3 separate regions of the Homo sapiens genome follow, and regions 1 and 2 are each linked to region 3. The links are contacts of gene promoters, found by promoter capture Hi-C in blood cells and fetal thymus (Javierre and others, 2016). All regions are on one chromosome and are shown on one strand. Each heading gives the region's core, a stretch centred on a gene start or on the middle of the fragment in contact. The rest is flanking DNA. Distances are from core to core; before and after follow the strand shown.

Evidence for each region. Contacts are between HindIII fragments. The CHiCAGO score rates a contact against its expected background, and 5 or more counts as called.
Region 1: a contact is called between a fragment that was not itself captured here and the fragment with the promoter of LRRC17 in region 3, in 5 of 17 cell types (megakaryocytes, M2 macrophages, M0 macrophages and 2 more). The highest score is 9.4, in megakaryocytes.
Region 2: a fragment that was not itself captured here is called in contact with the fragment with the promoter of LRRC17 in region 3 in 3 of 17 cell types (M2 macrophages, megakaryocytes and M0 macrophages); the score reaches 6.6 in M2 macrophages.

What each region holds. Positions count from the first base shown.
Region 1 is chr7:102,808,903-102,812,426 of GRCh38, reverse strand. FBXL13 (F-box and leucine rich repeat protein 13) reads left to right here. Exons shown (of 21, transcript NM_001394494.2): 21 at 1-1,238. It overlaps FAM185A (family with sequence similarity 185 member A), which reads right to left. Exons shown (of 8, transcript NM_001145268.2): 8 at 3,202-3,524. Among named protein-coding and RNA genes, the nearest start is that of FAM185A, 62 kb to the right of the region's middle. The HindIII fragment of the contact is 3,439 bases long and covers 160-3,524 here.
Region 2 is chr7:102,829,940-102,833,154 of GRCh38, reverse strand. FBXL13 (F-box and leucine rich repeat protein 13) reads left to right here. Exons shown (of 21, transcript NM_001394494.2): 19 at 181-315. It also overlaps a transcript of FAM185A not described here. Among named protein-coding and RNA genes, the nearest start is that of LRRC17, 81 kb to the left of the region's middle. The HindIII fragment of the contact is 655 bases long and covers 1,490-2,144 here.
Region 3 is chr7:102,910,942-102,914,608 of GRCh38, reverse strand. LRRC17 (leucine rich repeat containing 17) reads right to left here and starts at 1,609. Exons shown (of 4, transcript NM_001031692.3): 1 at 1,464-1,609. FBXL13 (F-box and leucine rich repeat protein 13) reads left to right here. Exons shown (of 21, transcript NM_001394494.2): 12 at 1,394-1,523. The HindIII fragment of the contact is 1,856 bases long and covers 1,114-2,969 here.

The DNA.
Region 1 (3,524 bases), core at 630-3,129, 100 kb after region 3:
GAATGTCCCTGCAATGTCTCAGAAAGACATCTCTTTAATCAAATTTGCACAACGGAGGAATTCTTAAACTATGCTATGCCAAAAAAGATGCTCCCTCAATTTTATGCTAGGAAGTATGGGTTATTAATTGCATATCTACATATTAGTTTTTAATAAGCTTTAATCCGTAGGTTTTAGTATATGTGCTGCCGAAGTGAGCACATCTGTGGGTTTTTACCATTATTTGATATTATGTAACACTGATGTTGACACAGTCCAAGAGAAAACACAACTCTGTTCTGACTGCCGCAAACAAGCCTTGTCAGCAATATCAGATCAGCCTTTTAACCTTTCTATTTCCTCAATTACTTATCTCTCACGTGGAGTTAATTCTCTTTTTGTATCCCACAAGTTTCAAATAAGGATTAAAAACTTAAGATAAAGCATCGTTATTTTGAAAAGTTTTAAAAAGATTGTACAAAGTATTATTATAGGCTACCTTGTATTAGCTAAATGCTTTTAGTAATTCTCCCCCACTGAGGTTGACTTGCAAAGTTTTTGAAATAAGGTAATATTACTTAGCTGTGGAAAGGTTCCTAGGAGTGGGCACACAGGCAACAGAATCATTTGAGTGGGAAGTTTTAGACCATAGCCAAGAGACATAAGATGACATAAGAGTATGATTTTAACCTAAATTTGGAAATTTCTGGCAGCTGCATTAAAGATGTTTTCAAAAATCTGATCCCTAAGTGCTTCATGCACACAACTGGTGGAACTTATAAAAGAGGCAATTGCTTTCTAAAGGAATGACACCTGCACTGGTTAGACCCCGGTAAGAAACACACCCTGTTATGTTCTCCAGAAACCTAGCAGGTTGCTTTACATTCAGAGCTTGCTCCAAAGCTCTTTGAGTAACATCCTTTCTTAAACAAGAACAGAAGACACATTCATTCATTCTGGGGAGACAAATTTTACAGCTACATAAATGAAGAAAAGGAGTAGAAAAAGTGAGCTATGAAAGGAGACCAAGAATAGGGATACAGGTAGAGAAATCTTTTAAGTTTTCGATGCAAACTACTCAAAATATCAAAGATATTAGTTAGGTCTTTAGCCCTTACGTATTTCATATTCATAGGTCTGTGTCCAAGAGAGTAAATTATGGCAGCTTTTTCTTTTTGTCTGGGACTTAACAATGTGATCCAAATATGTACAATTCCATTAGTAGCTTTAAATATAGTTGACTGCTGTTATGCTTATGACTTTTCTGGCTGTGGTTAGCTAATTTATTTTTAGTCATGAAAATGTTTATGTAATTGCATGAGGGTGAAAAAAGATTATCAAAACTGCCTCACTGCTACACAGTTTCCTCTACTTAATAGTATAACACACCACAACCATACCAAATATACCAATGTGTGAGTATCTTTCAGACTTGTATACATTCTGATTTCATGAAGGGTGAACTAAAAGGAGACTCTGAGATATCCTACAAAGCTGACTTTTGTTTCATAAATAAGAAGTTAAAAACAGAACTCTAAAGAAATGGAAAATTAATGAAAAGGAGGCTGGGCACAGTGGTTCATGCCTATAATCACAGCACTTTGGGAGGCCAAGGCAGAAGGACAACTGGAGGCCAGGAGTTCGAGACCTGATGAACATAGTAAAACCCATCTCTATAAAAAATTTAAAAATTAGAGCATGGTGGCACCTGCCTGTAATCCCAGCAACTCAGGAGGCTGAGGCAGGAGGATGCCTGAGGCCAGGAGTTTAAGGCTTCAATGAGCTATGATCATGCCACTGCACTCCAGCCTGGGCAACAGAGTGAGACCTCGTCTGAAAAAAAGAAAAAGATCATCATAAATAATAATATTTGGAAAGGTTTATTAAAAATTAGTGTTTAAGAATGGACTTCTCCTGGCCCGGTGCAGTGGCTCACACCTGTAATCCCAGCACTTTGGGAGGCTGAGGCAGGCAGATCACATGAGGCCAGGAGTTCAAGACCAGCCTGGCCAACATGGTGAAACCCATCTCTAGTAAAAATACAAAACTTAGCTGGGCATGGTGGCGTGCACCTGTAATGCTAGCTACTGTGGTGGCTGAGGCATGGGAATCGCTTGAACCTCGGAGGCAGAGGTTGCGGTGAGCCAAGATTGTGCCACTGCACTCCAGCCTGAGTGGCAGAGCAAGACCCTGTCTCAAAAAACAAACAAAAAAAGAACTGACTTATCTTAATCATAAAAAATATAATCCAAGCGATTTAGGCCATTCTTGTTTTGCTATAAAGGAATACCTGAAGCTGGGTGATTTCTAAAGAAAAGAGGTTTAATTGACTCACGAGGTTTAATTGGTTCTGCAGGCTGTGAAAGCATCGCACGGGCCTCTCTGCTTGGCTTCTGGGGAGGCCTTAGGGAGCTTTTACTCATGGCAGAAGGCAAAGTGGGAGCAGGCACATCACATGGCAAGAGCAGGAGCAAGAGAGAGACGGGGAAGATACCCACACTTTTAAACAGTCAGATCTTGCAAGAACTCACTATCATGAGGACAGAACCAAGAAGGTGGTGGTAACAATTAATGAGAAATCTGCCCACATGATCCAATCAGGCCCCACCTCCAACACTGGGGATTACATTTCATCATGAGATTTTGGGGGACAGATATCCAAACTACATCACCAAGAGATAGGTCTGGTCTTATAGTATAGTTATAGTATTATATAACTTATTTGTTTATTTTAATTAATTTTTTTGAGACGGAGTTTCACTCTGTTGTCCAGGCTGGAGTAAAGTGGTGTGATCTCGGCTTACTGCAACCTCTGCCTCCCAGGTTCAAGCGATTCTCCTGCCTCAGGCTCCCAAATAGCTGGGATTACAGGGATGAGCCACCATACCCAGCTAATTTTCTTTTTTTTGTATTTCTTGTAGAGATGGGGTTTTACCATGTTAGCCAGGCTGGTCTCAAACTCCTGACCTCAAGTGATCCATCCACCTTGGCCTCCAAACTGCTGGGATTACAGTCATGAGCCACTGTGCCTGGCCAGTATTATATAATTTAAATGTTCCAGGAATAGAGATGTTTGAAAGAAATGGAATTCATAAAATATCTTTATACAGTATACCTTTATAAAAATCTATCTTCATACATCAGGCTATAAAATAGCTGTTTCTTTTTTCCTAATTAGCTATATCTTAAGTTACACAAAAGATATTAAGAATCAGTAGCAACTGCTTCACATATTTGTTTTTTATTTACAGCTTAAATTTACATTGATGCCATAAAAGGTACTAAGTAGAAAACCTGTCATGTGAGAGCTACATTATAAAGAATTCTAAGCTAATTGTCCCCACATGATGGATGCCTTTGTATAATCTCCTTTCCTTGAGTGGGAGTGAAAACTGAATGTGATGGGCCATCACTCCTATGAATGTTACATTATATGGCAAAACAAAGGTTATCCTGGGTGGGCCTGACCTAATCAAGTGAGCCCTTTAAAAGTATATATTCTTCCAGCTGGCTGCAGAAGAAGTCAGATATTCAAAGCATGAGAA
Region 2 (3,215 bases), core at 568-3,067, 82 kb after region 3:
TATCTTTTGCTATAAACAGATGTTGGATGTAACATGGGTTTTTTAAATTATTTTTTGGGGGCATCAAGATCTAACATCTGTATTTCAGGGACTGAAATGTACATTTAATAAGCTACTATAAGTAAGACAGTTCTAGATGACTAAAGAAAAGAAAAAATTTGACCTTGGAATTTTTTGCAGGCATTCTGCAAAAGCTCACTGATCTTGGAACATTTGGATGTCTCTTATTGCTCCCAGCTGTCAGATATGATTATCAAAGCACTGGCCATTTACTGCATTAACCTCACATCTCTCAGCATTGCTGGCTGTCCAAAGGTATGTGCAGGAGTCAGGGCTCAAACACATCCAATTTAAGCACTGCCAAGGGACAAGGCAGGACAGCGATCAGGGCTGGACTCAGAATATGTTCTCTTTGCCATGGTTGAGGTATTCATTGGATTTTTTTCTTCTATCCTCAAATTGGAAATAGCTTATGATTCCACTGGTGTCAAAGTAGAATTTTCCAAAAGTTAAAAACATAATTCTCATACAAATATAAACATGTGTCAAAGATTTCTTTAATTCACTAATGAGAGAACCAACAAAATGACAAAGCCAGTGCGTAGAGCATTTGAATGAACTTAGTATTTGTAGGAACTGATGAAAGAATGTTGCATTAAGAGTGTTAGGTTAGATCTAAAAGTGTTTTACAAGTTATTAAATCCATAACCTTGGGGTTACAGTTTATACCAGATACAAATAATTTGCATCTTTCCTGGACAAAAATATAACAACATATAACTTCATTGAGCTAGGGCCTTAGTGGACAGTAAATGGTATGTCAAACAAAGGCATGATTTCCTATAGAATTCTCCAGGTAGGCCTGTTAAACAGTGTTCCAGTTTGACACTCCAAGGACATACCATCATCTTTTGTGTTATTTTCAAGTGTTTTATAATTTTTCTGGGACCTCTGTATATAAATGAAGTAAGTACTCATTATGAAAAATTTGGACTACATATAAAAGCTTAAGGGAGAAAGTAAATATCCATTGTCCTGTCACCACCTGGACATAACCATCGCTGGTATTTTATTCTTCTAGATTTTTTTCTATGCACAAAAAGATTAGAAATAGTTACAGAAAGTTTGTGTTTTGCCTTGTTTTTTAAAATAATAGAATCATACTTTCCAAAATACATTGTAACCTACTTTTTAATATACTATGGACATATCTCCATGTAAAGAACTAGAGATCTCAGGTTCTGGATTAATAATAGTAGACTGAATATACACATATAATTTTGTTCCTCTTGAAACGCTACCAGAACTAGAGATGAAGAGTGAGGGCCCATATGGATAAGGAAAACAGGAGAGGAGATAAGAGCAACAAAAATTTGGAAGCTTGAAAATAGATGGACTAATTTAGCAGACCAGAGACTGCTTTGAATCCTAAGCCAACAGTAGAGAAAGCTGGAAAAAAAAATCTGATTTACACCACAATCTTCAAGCTTGGGAGCACCGTGTACCTTTGGAACTGGGTTAAGAGTGGGGATGAAAATAAGGGAGACTGAGTTAGAGATTCTTAAGAAGTAGATAGATCTCTAGATTCCAGCCCCTACTCCATAAATCTGGGCAACTGTCTCTCCCCACCCCAAACAGAAGCCTGGAGATTTATTTCCTAAATTCTGGTTCTTCATCCCTGACACTATTCATATTTTGGACAAGATAACTCTCTGTAGTGGGGTGTGTGTGTGTGTGTGTGTGTGTGTGTGTGTGTGTGTCCCGGGCACTGTAGATGTTTAACAGCATGCCTGCCCTCTACTCACTATATGTCAGTAGCACATAAGATCCCATCCCTCCAGACCTTACCACATGTTCTCTGGTGGAGGTGAGGGCCAAAATTGTTCTTGAATTACCCACTACTCTAGAGATACTAAAACAGAGGGTTGCTAGGCTAACTAAGTGACTCAATGCTGAGTGCAGAGATATTCAAGCACTTTTTCCAACTGAGCATCAAGAACTTGGCTGCCAGATCTTCTTCTCCAGGTGGGAGATTGGTAGCCTCTTCTCTGGGAACCCTGACTAGCCCAAGATGAAAGACCTAAAATGACTGACAGGGGTGGTTCCCAACAAATAACACACGTAGATCATCCTTCATTGAAGCTTACAATAGAGATGCGTGTACTCTGACCTTCCGATTAGTTTTTAGTCCTCCACTCTTAATCGTGAACAAAAGGATTACCAGACATAAGAGGAAAGTCTCTAAAGTGGAAGATATTGATCAACACAAATTAACAGGAAAAACTTGGAGTTAGCAAAATATGAAGAAGGAAGAAAACTAAGAAATTTTTTTGAAAATCCTCAGAAATTACAAGGTTATTAACAATCGTGTTCTCTTCTATTGTACACACTGAAGGCTTTTGTTTACTACAGCATCACACCAACTCTCAAGATGCCCTACGCTTTATTTAATCTAGAAGTTCAGCTTCTATGTTGTTTGGTTTGTATGGTTAGCTAATTGTGCTGCAATAAAAAGGAGGAGGCAGCAGGGAAAAAGATGTGGTAAACCGTGACAAAACTAAGCCAAAAAGTTCACAGCAAAATTATTTTTGTTTAATAATATACTTGTTTAGAACTAGGGGAACCAGATGTCTTTCTGGTCAGCATCATCTGGTTCTATTAGTGAGCTGGGTCAAGGGACCCAGAACACTAGAAGCGCTGACCAACTGACTCTCTGCAACTTAAACAGTGATAGTTCACAGAGATTCTTGCGTTCATAGCACACAGACATATGGGCAACACATGGCTTAGTGAGAAGTGAGAACTGCCCTGGCTATAAAGCAGGCACAGATGGAGACTGGGTTTCTTAGTGGCTCTAAAGCAGAAAGTAGGAGAATGAGAAAAGAAAAGGCTCCAGTGCAAACAGAAAATAGGGCAGAGGATTTTGTTTGTTTGTTTGTTTGCTTTGGTTTTTTGTTTTTTGTTATGAAGGCTGAGGGAATTCCTTCTGTAAACTGTGCATGGCTATTGTCTTGCAGCCCAGAAGCTAAGGGGGATGTTAAACAAATATGCAAGAAATGCATCACTCTGTATCAAAGGTTTAGAGGGAGAAAGAGGAAGAAGGAAGAGTCAATTATTTTAGAACGCTGATACAAAGGAGTAGAAAGATTTAGCTTTACCATCTGAATTGTTCTGGTCAGACTGTGGGTCAGATGAGTATCCTGATTGAGAAGATG
Region 3 (3,667 bases), core at 360-2,859:
TCAAAATCTGATTAATGGTCAGTGCTTGTATATCTTATTTCCCATTTATGGGAGGTAAACTTTATTCACCTGTGTGATTTTGAGAGGCAGAGAAGCATTTTCTCCTCACTTTTCATTCTTTTTGCTTTCTAATTTGCTATTAAGCTGTTGCATATCACAAACTAAGAGCATGATTGCTAATTCCATTAGAAGAGCAGATAGTAGTGGGAATCCTTGACCTCTTAAAAAGTGCCAGGCTTTCTGGGCACGGTGGCTCATGCCTGTTCCGAGCACTTTGGGAGGCCAAGGCGGGTGGATCACCTGAGGTCAGGAGTTCGAGGCCAGCCTGGCCAACATGGTGAAACCCTGTCTCTACTAAAAATACAAAAATTAGCTGGACATGTTGGCACGCGCCTGTAATCCCAGCCACTTGGGAGGCTGAGGCAGGAGAATCGCTTGAACCAGGGGTTGGGGGAGTGGGGAGGAGGTTGCAGTGAGCCAAGATCTCACCATTGTACTCCAGCTGGGCAACAAGAGCGAAACTTCGTCTCAAAAAAAAGTTCCAGGCTTTGGAGGGCTTGGGAAATTGTCCACGGAGTGTCCTCAAACTGCGAGCCCTCGTATGGTAGTACAGGCTCATCCTAACTACCCTACTTTTTTCTGGAAGCTGTCATTTTGGTCATTGTGGTAATACCATATTTAATCTGTTTCAACTCCAGCGAGATTTATAGTCTCTGATGTTGCTTTTGATTCTTCTCATGTGTTGCCTGCTTATTTGCAAACTGGTCTTCTTAATCCATGCTTAAACTCTGCATATCAATTAGTCTTTCTTTAACTATAATAATGAAACTGTCACAAACTCATGCATATTTAAACCTATTTTTTAAACTCATTTGCTTATCAGATCTATTTTAAGAGCATGGTCATATTCAGTTTTGCCTTCTGTCCCAAATCCTCACTCTCCTGTAACAGTCTCCATTTAAATGTTTACAAAGGATTTGTCCTTTTATATATTTTGCACATTATTTTGGTACTCCAGAGATAAAACCTAAAAGCAACAATACACTCTGCAAATTTGGTTTCACTTCCAAACAATATGATTGCCTCCCCCACCTCACACACACCAAAAAAGCTTTATCCCAGTCAACTTTCTTAAATATCTAGGCAAATATTATTGAACTATTAATACTTTCACTTGAAATGTATTACAAGGTATTAAATGTATTGTGTGTTACCTTATATAACACTGTAGTCTCCTTTAATTAACAGGTAGAGAGTTAACAGTAAAGTTAAATGTTGAACATCTGCAAGAAGAAGAGTTGAATTTACAGTTTTCTTTGTCATAGTGGCTTAAGAAAGATTTGAGAGAACAACGGAAGTATAATACTTTCCTTCCTCTCTTTTGTCTTTTCAGGCACTTCCACAACTTACAGAATCTTAGTTTGGCTTATTGCAGACGGTTCACAGACAAAGGCTTACAGTACCTGAACTTGGGGAATGGATGCCACAAGCTCATCTATCTGGACCTCTCTGGCTGCACCCAGGTTTGTCTTTCAGTCTTCTCTTTGCTGCGGTGTGTGAGGAAGTTCTCCAGAGAATGGGCTGCATTCAGCCCTCACGTTATACTAATGCTGTGCACGGACCGCAGCACACTTTTCAGAGGTTTTAAATTACATGGCCCCAGCTGCTGAAATTTTCCCCAGGATCGCTATTATAGGCTCTTGGCTTCCTTCCACTGGAGTGTCACACAGACAAACAGGCAGAGCTCATTGGATGAGGAAACGGACCACTTTTGTGGAGACAGTCTGAGCACAAGTCTAAAGCAGAGTCCAAGTCCTGAAAACTCTGGAGTTGCTACCAAGACACAAACAAAGAGAATGTTTTGAGGGAGAATTTTGCATGGGATTCCTGAAAAGTCAATTAACTCCCACATGGGTTTTTTTTTGGGGGGGGGGGGGTAAAATGCTATAAGTGATAAATAGGAAAAGAAAATACAACAAAAACTCATAATTTAAAAAATTGCATTACACCGTTGGGCTGAATAACATGAAGATTTGAGATCTGCGTGGGAAAATATTTTAAGTTTGAGGGAACAGGACTTGGAAAGTTGGGCAGAAAATTGGATCAAGTTGCAGAGGATAGGGCATGGCGCTTTGGATGTAGCTACTGCCTCATTGATAGTTTCTTCTGCTTTAATTTCAAAAGATTTAAGCCATAATTCTTTTAACTTATTTTCTTCTGCCTCTCTGTGTATTTTATTAATTTGGTGTCATAGTATGTTCATTATTCTATGAGAATAATAGCATAGGTGAGAACTGGCTGAAATATTGATAGTTATCATTTCTTGAGTCATTACCATATGCCAAGCATTGTGTTGAGTGCTATACACAGATCAGATTTACTTCTGATACAGTGCTGTGGTGGTATGTATTTACTATGCTTATTTACAAATGAAGAGACCAAGGCTCAGGGTGGTTGAATAAGTTGCCCAAGTTTGCACAGCTGATGAAAGCACATGGTACTAGTACAGTTTTAAGCATCTGTTGCTAGATACTGGGGCAGGCAGAGTTCCCTGGGATAGTGGGAAATACAGGGGCAGCATGGGTTTCTCCCCCAGGGTTCTTGAATGGATAGAATTCTTACCTAGTCACCTCCACTGACATCTTGTGGTATCCTGATGCCCTGGGTGGTCTGGAGGGAGTTGGGGCAAGGAGGGGAGGATTCTAAGTTAGGGCTGTAAACATCTAACATTCATATTTGTTTAAAACTGATCTGCTGATGTGTAGCTTTTTAAACATCAACATCTACCATAACTTTATGACTGAGATGGCATTGACGTTCTCCTCAGCATGACTGAATTTTAGACCAGCTTCTTACTGACTCTAGGCCCTGACTTCTTGTTTTCTTGTTTCTTAGAGCATTTGTTTTAGAAAACTTGGAATTATAAGTTCTTTCTCTGCCTACTTTGAGATGTCTTTTTAACAAAAGCTTCTTGACAGTTTTACAACTCAGGAAAGTCTTCCTCAAGGACCTGGGATCTATCCCTTTGATATATAATCATCAAAGAAGATATCTCTCAGTTCCTGTGGGTGGGTAGAAGCCTAACTTTGATGGGCACCAATTAGCAAATGCCAATGGCCCAATCACAGAGAAAAATATTTGCAAACTCAGGAACAACTTAATGTGCTTGACATATCCCACTGATAAGCCTGCCCCTTAACTATAAATCCTTCAGTACTTTTCTAACTCGCCGTTGTGCTTAAACCCTCCTCATGGTATGACTTACCTCCTTCTTCTTATCAATTTCTCAGTTACCATGAGGCAATTATTGTAGCAACAACACACAAATGTATACACAAGTGTCCTAAGGATAAATATTCTCAGACACAGTAAAGTTGAAATGAGAGGCTTCAAATCTATGACCTACTGCCCAGATATGCATACAAAACACACATAATTGGAGGAGGTGAAGCAAGATGGTGGAACAGAAGGCTCCACCCATTGTTCCCCACCCAAGGACACCAAGTTAACAACTATCTACAGAGAAAAAACACCTTTGTATGCTTTTAGGCTGGGCGCGGTGGCTCATGCCTGTAGTCCTGGCATTTTGGGAGGCTGAGGCAGAAGGATTACTTGAGGCCAGGAGTTCAAGACCAGCCTAGGCAACATGGTGGGACCCACGTCTCTA